2 separate regions of the Homo sapiens genome follow, and region 1 is linked to region 2. The links are contacts of gene promoters, found by promoter capture Hi-C in blood cells and fetal thymus (Javierre and others, 2016). All regions are on one chromosome and are shown on one strand. Each heading gives the region's core, a stretch centred on a gene start or on the middle of the fragment in contact. The rest is flanking DNA. Distances are from core to core; before and after follow the strand shown.

Evidence for each region. Contacts are between HindIII fragments. The CHiCAGO score rates a contact against its expected background, and 5 or more counts as called.
Region 1: a contact is called between a fragment that was not itself captured here and the fragment with the promoter of MBD1 in region 2, in 1 of 17 cell types (neutrophils). The highest score is 6.6, in neutrophils.

The regions. Positions count from the first base shown.
Region 1 is chr18:47,914,471-47,920,046 of GRCh38, forward strand. The region is part of intron 1 of SMAD2 (SMAD family member 2); the gene reads right to left. Among named protein-coding and RNA genes, the nearest start is that of SMAD2, 13 kb to the right of the region's middle. RefSeq lists an enhancer at 3,894-4,506. The HindIII fragment of the contact is 8,355 bases long and covers 150-5,576 here.
Region 2 is chr18:50,278,621-50,283,667 of GRCh38, forward strand. It overlaps MBD1 (methyl-CpG binding domain protein 1), which reads right to left and starts at 2,903. Exons shown (of 17, transcript NM_015846.4): 1 at 2,743-2,903; 2 at 1,263-1,397. The coding sequence starts at 1,372. CXXC1 (CXXC finger protein 1) reads right to left here. Exons shown (of 15, transcript NM_014593.4): 12 at 4,895-4,944; 13 at 4,645-4,741; 14 at 4,234-4,386; 15 at 3,727-4,119. The coding sequence ends at 3,973. RefSeq lists silencers at 2,636-2,715, 2,726-2,835 and enhancers at 2,981-3,561, 3,562-4,142. The HindIII fragment of the contact is 20,722 bases long and covers 1-5,047 here.

The DNA of each region.
Region 1 (5,576 bases), core at 3,077-5,576, 2.4 Mb before region 2:
GACGTAATACAGAGAATCCCCTCTAGATATTCTTATGGATGCTTTAGTTTACTTTTCATATTAAGTTTCTAAAAGAAAGATCAGAAATTTGGTTTTAAGAGGTGAGACAGTGATCTAACCATCTCTCATAAGGACAGCCTGTGTATTAAAGCTTACCTTTTGCTAAGTCATAATGCCACTTCTGTCGCATAACAAATTCCTACTAAAGGTCTGATCACACGCATTCTGTTATTTGTTCACACTTAACATCAATGTAAGAAAATATTAATTACTACTGCTTTCTAGTTAGTCTTGATATTTGTCAGGGTGACCCCCCTTCCTTATTTTTCAGATGTGTAGTATTGCTGGTTACTTTAAGTTTAGCATGTTCTACAAAAATCCTATAGGATTTTGATTGGAAGTGCAATGAATTTATATTAGTTTATGGAGAACATATTTATGATATCAAGTACTCCGACTATGCAAATGAGTATTTCCATTTATTTATTATCTATTGATAAGTTGCATATTTTCTCCATAAAAAATCTTACATCTTGTCAAATTTACTTATTTCTCCAGGTATCTTGGTTTTTATTGTAAATGGGGACTTTAATTACACAAAAATATTACACTCAACACTCATGTACTTTCCATCTAGCTGTCATATCTTAGCATTTTGCAGTACTTGATCAGACATAAGAAATAAGATACGAATACAGCTAAAGCCCCCTATGTATTCCTCTTTGATAACATTTCCCTCCCTCTTGCTTCTCAGAGATTATCACTATCCTGATGTTCCCCCATGGTCATTTAACAGTTTTGCTACATATTGTATCCATACAATACAGTTCTGTACATTTTATAAATTTATATGAAAGTGTGATACTGTTCAGTCCATGCTGATACATACATAATCCTAAATCCTAGTTCATTCATTTTAGCTGTCACATGGCATTCCATTTTATGACTAGCACAGTTCACTGTCCATTCACTCTGGATGACTAGTTAGGTTTCCAATTTTCCTCTCTCACAACCTGCTATGAATAGGCTGGTATATATCATTTTATACCATGTAAAAGCTCTTCTAGGGCAGAAAATTTCAAACTTTCAAACTTTTTAACCAAAAAAAGTCCCACAGTGAAAAGTACATTTTACATGCAACCTAGTATATACACACACACTTTGCTAAAAAAGACATTTCACCATATGCTGCACTCTACAATTTCTCTAAACTGAGGGTCGCGAACCGTGAGTGGGCATGAAATCAATAATTCTAACAAATGTTTACACTAATGTAACCACAATCCCCAAAAAAACAACATTTCCAGCACCTCAGATGTCTCCCTTACGTTCCTTTTCAGTCAATCCACCTTCCCCCGTCAGGCAACTACTGACTTCTATTACTATTAATTTTACCTGTTCCAGAAATTCATATAGATGGAATTATACCGTATGTACTCTTCTGTGTTTTTTAACACCCTTTTGAAAGTTCTCTTGTATTCATTTCCTAAGAATTTTTGTCATGAACAAGTACTAAATGTTATCATATGCTTTCCCGTTGTCCATCAAAATTATCATATGGCCTTTCTCCTTTAATGTGTTAACATGATGAATTTCATTTACGAGTTTTCTAATGCTTAATCATCCCTACATTCCTGAGACAAACCCTAATTAGTCATGGTATTTTTGTTTTGAGTAAATACTAACATTTTACAAACTACAATTTTTATTGCCATGTTCTTTGGTGAGAATGCAGCCTATATCCCCTTCTCACACTATCTGGTTGGGGTATCAAGATTATAGTAGCCTTGCAAAATAATTTTTCTGTAACATTTTGTATAAGATTAGAGTTAATCCCTCACGTTTGGTTGCACTTGCCCATACGGGGTCTTCATTTGTAGTCTGGTGTTTTGCTTGAGGACTTAAAATTTTACATTGGTACAGGTATATTTATTTATTTATTTTGTTTTGTTTTGTTTTGTTTTGAGACAGAGTCTCACTCTGTCGCCCAGGCTGGAGTGCAGTGGCACGATCTTGTCTCACTGCAACCTCTGTCTCCTGGGCTCTGCCTCAGCCACCTGATTAGCTGGGATTACAGGCGACTGCAACCATGCTTGGCTAATTTTTGTATTTTTGATAGAGATAGGGCTTCACCATGTTGGCCAGGCTGGTCTCAAACTGCTGACTTCAAGTGATCGCCCACCTTGGCCTCCCAAAGTGGTAGCCACCATGCCCCGCCTGGTATAGGTATATTTCTAAACATGACTAAGTTTTTAAATCATAATCTAGTGAAGTTTCTAATTCTTATTAAGCCAACTTGGTAATTTGTTTTGCTAGAAATTGTCCACTTTACCTGTTTCCAAATTTAAAGAAATAAAACTGTTCACAGTATTCTTGCAGTTTTAAAATCTCAGTTTGTCTGCAGTTATACCATCCCTTCATTTCCAATACATTTGTACATTCTTTTTCTCCTCTATCAGTCTTGGCACTCTTTTCAACTTAGTTACATGCACTAAATCAAAGACACTATTTTTGTTGTTGTCGTTGTTGAGACAGAGTCTCGCTGACACTATTTTTGTTGTCGTTGTTGAGACGGAGTCTCGCTCTGTCGCCCAGCCTGGAGTGCAGTGGTATGATCTCGGCTCACTGCAACCTCTGCCTCCTGGGTTCAAGCGATTCCCCTTACAGAATGTATCTTCTGTAATTGTTGGGTGCTTGCTAATTGTACTCTTCCAATCCTTCATAACCTTGTAGTTTTTTAAATCTACCCTTTCATAAATTACTGAGAGGTATATTAAAATTTTCTACTACGATTATAGATTTGATTTATACCTGTAATTCTTCCAATTTTACCTTATAAATTACACCTAGTATATCTTTTCCATTCCTTTGCTTTTAAACTATGTCATCATACTTTTAGGAGTATCTCCACTTGTAAAATACAGTTGGTTGGATTTTTTAAATTTTTGTTCTCCTTTAGCCAGCAAGTTTAATCTGAGATTACATATTGGGTTTATGGAGATATTTCAGCTTATTTTCTACCATCTTATTTTGTGTTTTCTAATACCTATGCATTTTTCTTTTCTTTTTTCTTCTTCCCTGCCTTATACTGGAGTGATCAATTTCTCTTTATTTCCACCCCTCATCCCCACTGACTTGGAGTTATACGTTATTCTATTTCAATTCTTTTGGAGAGTTATTGGTAAAAAAATTTTTAATGGAAAACTTTAACTCATCATTGCATTGTAGATGAAAACAGCCTATTGAAAACCATAAAGAATTTTTTTTTTAAGATATGGGTTCTCCCTATGTTGTCTAGGCTTGAACTCCTGGACTCAACCAATCCTCCTGCCTCAGCCTCCCAAAGTGCTAGGATTACAGGCATGAGCCACCACGCCTAACCAAGGGAATTTTTAAAAACCAGAAACCTCATGAGGATAGGGAGAAGAGGTAAGGAGAAAACAGAAGCAAAATTTTAATGGCTGGAAAATGGGTGAGCAGTAATTGAACAGATCAGAAACTACTAACTCTAGGCTAGCTGTAGGAAAAGCTGAAAACCATTGATTAACACAGAAACCTCAAAAAGTTAAGGAACCAACAGCAAGTCACGGCAGGAACTGAGGGCCAGGCAGGGGAAGGAATAATAGGTAGCACTTGTTAAGAGCTTTGTAGAAAGGAATTCAGTTCTTAGATTTCCGCCCCTACTGTCTCTGGATAACTAATCCTCTGCCTCAACGTTTACTTTCTGCAAAGGGGAAAACAAAATCCCTGGACTAGGAGATGGCCTGGGTATAAGTAGGAAGAAAAGAGGGTGTGAATGAACATGAGCACGCTGTGTTAAATGTCGACTCCCAAACCCCTTCCTCCACTGGGTTTTGGCTCCCAAATACTAGCAGCCAGACCTCCGCCCAGTTATTCAGATCAAAAGACTTCACTAGGGTACCTGACCGACCCAGGAGGAAAGGCATATAGATGCTAATATTGGGAGTTTACCAACAAACAGCCTGCCTGCTCAGATCCCTCTCCAGTGAAACTGAAAGGAGACAAGTTTCACCCACATGTTGAGTTTTTGATCAGCTTTTTAGATCCCCACTTCTTAAGAATTACTTTATCTGAGGAAAAACGTCAAACAAAACCAGAAAAATTCAGCTTCAGGAAAAGACTATACAGAGAAAGAAAACATTTTTAAAACATCAACATGGCCAGAGAAATAAGACTGAGCAACCCTGAAGAAAGAGCAGCATGCTCTCAAAGGCAGCATTCAGAGAACTTAACAGCTCTTGCATAGCTTGACAGCAGAAACGGGGGAAAAAAATCAATAGAAGTGCTAGAAGATAAAGTAGAAGAAATCTTCCAGAAAGTAGAAAAGAAAGATGGGAAACAGTAGAGAAAATGAAAAAAATTGGAAGACTGGTTCCAGAGGTCCAATGTCCCAACAACAGTTCCAAACAGAGATGCAGAGTAGGGGAGTCAAATAGATAAATTAAGAAAAAGCCCCTGAACTGAAAGATGGGAGTTTCTAGATGGAAAGGGCCCATCAAGACCCCAGTAAAACAGATGAAAACAAACCTACATGAAGGCCCATGGTAGCAAAACCAGAATGCCAAAGACAAAGAAAGGGCTTAAAGTTTCCAAGGAGGAAAAAAAATAGGTTATATAGAAAACAATCAAAATGGCTTTGGTTTTGTCAACAGTATACTGTAAACAAAGTCAAGAGAGCAATGGCTTCGTAATTCTGGGCTTCATAATTTTTCAAAAAAAAATTTCCAACCTAGACTTATGTTAGCCAGAACAAAGGCATTTTCAGACATGCAACATCTCCAAGTATTTACCGCCCCACCCCCAACACACTCTCCAGGAAGGTCCTGAAGAATATGTCTCATCAAAAGGAGATACTAGTAAAACAAAAAGGAATACGATCTACACTCGAACCCAGGAGTGCAAGGCTGCAGTGAGCCATGATCACCCTACTACACTCCAACTAGACAACAGAGTGTGACCTTGTCTCAAAAAAAAAAATACACACACACACACACACACACACACACACACACACACACACACACACACAAAGAATAGGAGATCTAACAAAGAAGAAAAAATGAAGGCAATCCCTAATATGCTAGTGAGGGGGAAATCTCAGAATGACTGCGGCGTACTAGGTGTAGAGGCAACCAGTGCAAATCGGAGCAAGCTAAAAAAGACGAAGCCAAAACAACGGCAGCCTTCTCTCCAAAGTGAACACTGTAGAAGTCAATGGAAGCATAACCTTCACTGATTAGAGCCAAATGATAAATGGATGGGGGTGACTGATGGGGCCATAAAGAACAGCTTTGTACCACTCTTTACCAATATCTCAGCAGATTTCTGATTCCAAAGATTACAACGCAAAAGAAAAAAATTTTGCCTAAGTGGAATTCTTATGTTAGTACATGTTTATATATGTATGGATTTCTTTAGACCAGTGCTATCCAACAGAAACAGGATGCAAACCACATATTGTTAAATTTTCTATCAGCCACATTAAAAAAGTAAAAATTGGTGTGCTTTAGTCAGTTCAGGACGGTATAACAAAGTACTACAGACTAGGTGGCTTA
Region 2 (5,047 bases), core at 1,653-4,152:
AAAAATCAGAAAGAATATAGAAACTTAATAATGTTTCTTAAACACATGTAAATGCTTATAAACATCTATGTTGACTCTCATTAGTTATGGTAGTTACGTTCTACAAAGCTATCATGAACATTGAATACAAAACCATTGCTCCTAGAAGAAATACAGGGTTAGGTTCCTGAGAGCATCTGAACTTTTGTTTTGTGTGTGTTTCTGTTTAAACACACATTACTTAATACATATTTTTTTTTACAAATGATTATTTGCATGGTCTTTGAATGACTCAAACCAGGGGACTTGGAGGCCGTATGTGTTATGTAAGGTTTTTTGCCAATATTCTTGTTTAACAAGCCAATCTCATTGACATTGAAAACCACTCTTCCACACAACCCCTTTCCTGTACAACACTTAACAGGTATTTTTAAAATTCTTCGGAAGACTCCTGATCAGCAGAACCTGCATTGCATGCAGGTTTAACATGTTTCATGCCATGTCGCCTTTTGAAATGTGCAAGTCAGCCAGCACTAGCTGATATAACCTTAATATTTTCCTAACCCAGGGTAACATGACTTTGGCTTTCCTCAACAATGCTGTCAACTATGCTTTATTGATCGTCATTTCATGAACCCACCAATGTAGCTGCTTTCTCATCTCTTACATAGCTTCAAGACTATAAATGCTTTCTGTACTTTCTGAAGCAGCTTTGTGCACATATTGGCAAATTTCCTTCTTTTTCTGGTTGTACCATAATTCTGATGCATAACATTGAACTTACAGCCAACAGCATTGTAACTCAGATAACCAGCAAAGTTTATCTGCCTTGTATTTTCTCCATAAAGCACGACATAGTCTTCTCACAGAACACTAAACAGCACCTCAGCACTATGCTTGGGGACCATTTTAAAAAGCAAAATCACCAAAAAGTACAAAAATTAGAAAAATGTGACACTAAACAGACCACGAAAAGGACACCTGTTTACAGTATTAAAGCTGAAAAGGGCTCCTTCAGCCTCAGCTAGAAATACATGCATTGAGTGACAGTTTTTCACTGCTCTGTACGTATTCTTGAATAATCACAAATGCACTGTGAGTAGTGACTTTTAAGTTACAAATAAATTTTATTAAGTAGGTGAAATTCAAACATAAAATCCGCTAATAAGGATTAACTGTATGTGCATAATTTAAACTTCATCCATAAATTTAACCACACCATTTGATTTTACCAGAATCAGGCTCTACCCCACTCCTGACTCTGCCCACTACCCACCCAGTACCTCTGGTAATAGGTGTCTGAGCGTCCACAGGTGGCCCCTGACTTGCGAAAGACTTCGCGGCGCTTCCAGCCAGGGCCCAGGGCCGGGCAGTCCAGCCAGTCCTCAGCCATGGAGGCCACAGGAAGCAGCAGTAGCCTGAAAGGGGGTGGAAGGGATGAGGGAAACTGAGGCTCTAGGAAGGGACAACACTGTGCCCCAGGCCACACAAATCACTGGTATCCATTAGTGCTTGCCCAAGCCCTAGGACCTGCCACAGGCAACCAGCCCATATATGGAAAAGAAACCCCTCATATTCTCACCCCATTCTTTCCTATTCTGGGCCTAGGATATCATCATTCCTCAACCCAAGGATCCCTGTTTCTTATTCTCAGTGTCCTAATCCCCTACTCCTCTCTATCCTCAGACTGACAACCCATCATTTCTCCTCACTGCCAATCCAGAAACTTTTCATCCTTCCCCCTCATTCCTCCCTGTCACTGACCTAAGGGCCTCTATCCCTCTATTTTATCACCCCAAGACCCCCATAGTCCCCATCCTCAGCCCCAAAGGGCCCCATTTCTCTTGCCCTCACTACTTGACTTCAGTAGTCTCTCATTCCCCCCTTCCTTGACCCAGGAGTTCCTAATTTCCCTCCTTCAGTGTTTTAACCACTCCATTCCTTCTCTGCCTGATGTCCTCTTATCCTGCTACCTCAGTGTTACAACCTCGACTTCCTCTGCGAGACACAACTGCTCCAACCCATAGCCTGAACAGCCCCTCATCTTTTCCATTCCTCACACTGGAAGCCTCCCATGCCTCCCCTTCCTCAGCCCAAGACCTCCCCCCTTATTTTTCTTCTCCTTCAATGTTCTCACCCACAATTTCTCCCTAGTCTGAGCTCCCAAACCTTCCTCTACAGCCAAAAAGTTCCCCACTTCTCCTCCTTACTGTTCTCATCCTCCATTCCTCCCTTATCATCCAGAGAGACCCTAATTTCTCCCCTCAGCATTCCGAACCCTCCTCCATTCTCTCTGTTCTTGTCCCGGGATCATGCCATCCCTAACTGTCACCATTCTGATCCCCTACTGCTCCTCGTCCTCTATATGGGGCCTCCTATTCCTCCCTTTCAGCATTCCAAAGCCTCTATTTCTCCTGTCATCAGCCTGAGGGCCCCTCATTTCTCCCTCTCAGAGTTCTGAACCCCCATTTCTCTCTCAACTTCAGATGCCCCGATGTCTCCCTTTAGCGTTCTGATCTCCACCATTCCTCTCCGTCCTCGTCCCAGGATCCCGACACTCCTACCTGTCAGAGTTCAGAGCTGCATTCCTTCCCGTCCTCAGCCTAAATCCCCCCATTTCTCCTCGTCAGTATTCCGACGCCGCCATTCCTCCCCCTTATCGGCCTGAGGGCCCTTCATTCCTCCCCGTCAGCGTTCTGAGCCACAATTCCTTCCCATCCTCCGCCTGAGCGCTCTCCACGTCCAGCCCCAAGGCTGTCTCACCAGTTTGGCACCAGGCCGGTATCTTCCGCCACTCTAGGCCCGTGGACCCATGGCGAGGGTCCCTCCTGCACCTCCCGCCTCGCCCTCCTCCCCTTCCTCCTCCTCCGCGGCCGCCTCCTCTGAAGCGGTAGCTGTCGCCTCCGCGGCTGTTCGTTGCTCCCGGAACCGGAAGTCCGCTGCCTGCCTCTCGGGCTCCGCCTCTGGCTAAGCACCTGCGCACTATTGCCTCGATGTCGCGTGCCCTTAATAGGGAGGCTCCCGCGCCTACGGGCCGGCGCTCCGCAGCGGTGCGCGCGCCCCCCTGCCGAGAGCCAGTTGCATCTGCGTGCTGACGTTCAACGACAGCTAACCCCTTCGAGGGACTGGCAGTTGCGGCTCTCCTCGCTGCCCATCTAGCTGGCGCATGCGCTTTCCAGCCTCAACCTGAAGGGAAGCGGTCGGGGAGGGCTTGCGCCTGCGCCCTCCCTTCCCTCCCGCGGTCTCCACAGCCGATACCGAACGCGGCAAGGAAGCTGCTTCGCGCCTGCGCACTCCCTGGCCCTGCCGGCGCTCTCCTCTCCCACCTCTCGCTGGGGTCTATCCTGTGTTCGTGGGTCCCTCCGAACATCAACCCCAGGGGGGGTCGTGTCCCGCTCCCTCCTCCCCGCCGAACAGCTGTGGGAGCGCGCGGGGCGGGGAAAGGGGCGGTGCCACACCGCAGGTAAACTGAGGCACGCGGGAGGGCGCGCCCCTGCAGGAGGCGGATCCCCAACGTGGGGCTTGTGGGGAAAAGGCGGGGCCTGGCGTCCACAGCGGACGACAGCTCTGGGTGGGAGACAGGAGCATGCATGGGCGGTGTCACCACACTGAAGGCGCGCTGCGTAGACCCTCTGCCCGTGGGAGGCTGGGAATGTGGGTCCCTGGGCTCTCGCGGGGTGCAGGCGCCCCCCATCTTATCCAGAAGTCTGGAACAGTTGCAACCGCAGCAATGTGGAGACAGCTTCCTTGGTTTCTTCAAAATTTTATTAACAAAACCCAGGGAGAGGAGGCAAGGATGAGTGGACTCCGCAGCCCCACCAGGCACTGAACATGTCGACGGGGACAGTCCCTCTGATAAAGGCAGATGGGCGGTCAACCGGTGGATGGGCACAGGGAGAACCGGAGAAACAGATGAGTGGAGGAACGGACACACGGGCACCGGGCGGCTCCCCCATCTGGAATGCAGGGTGTAAGGGGTCCGGGCCAGGAGGCTCAGCGGTCGGCACTGGAGCGCAGGTCGGTAGTGAGGGGATCGTGCTGGATCGTCTGGTGCAGCATCAGGGCCAGCAATCCCGCGCGGTTTGTCATGGCTGTGCGCACATTGCGCTCCTGCTCAAACAGCTCGTCCAGCTTGTACCACTGCCAAGGGAGCGGCAGGAGTCCTAAGCAGGAACACCTGCAGCCCCGCCTGCCCCGGCCACGTCCGACATGGAAACCTACCACATGCAGCACCAAAACCGCACAGAAACCTACCACACGCACGCGCTCCAAGTCCACTTCCGCACGCCGCAGCTTCTCCCAGCAGTAATGGCGATTGCACTGGCGCTTGGGCAGGCGGCAGAAGTCACCCGTGAGCTCAAAGACATCACGTACAAGGGGGCACCCGCATACCTCGTCAGCTGGCACCTGCAAGGAGGCCAGGTTGGGGGGATGAATAGCGGTGATAAGGGAGAATAGGAATGGGGGCTCAAGGAGGGAGAAGGAAAAGAATGGAGGGTTCAGGGAACGGTGAGGAGGCATGGAAAAGGAGGAATGGAGGGTGAAGCAGCAGGGAAGCTGAGAGGAAAAAGTGAAGGAAAAGTGAGGTGAGGAAGGAAGGGATGAATGTGGGACAGCGAGGCAGGGAGGAGGGGCAAAATGGGAGGAGCTGAGGGAAAACCTTACTTTGGGGTCCCGTGAGTGCTCGGGGCACAGCACCTGGAGCCGCTTACAGTATGTTTTGCTCTGAGGATTATACACATCACAGAAGAGTCGTGTGGCCCTGGGGATTTGGAGTAGAGAGGGCAGTAGAGGGAGGGAAGGGAGGTCCATCTGTCCTGGCTGGTTGCCCGTATCCTGCCCCAGCTCCACACACATCCCACTTCTGACCCCCGCCTTAACCCCCCACCTCTCACTGCGTGGCACCCTCACTTACCCTTCAATGCGTGTGGGGTACATGGACCCAAAGGACGTCTGGCTCTCATACTGGAGGGATGAGCACAAATGGAGGGAACTGTGGATGTGCGCTGCATGCCCTCCCAAGACACCACCCAGACAACAAATCTGTCCCCCACTGGCCCACTGATGT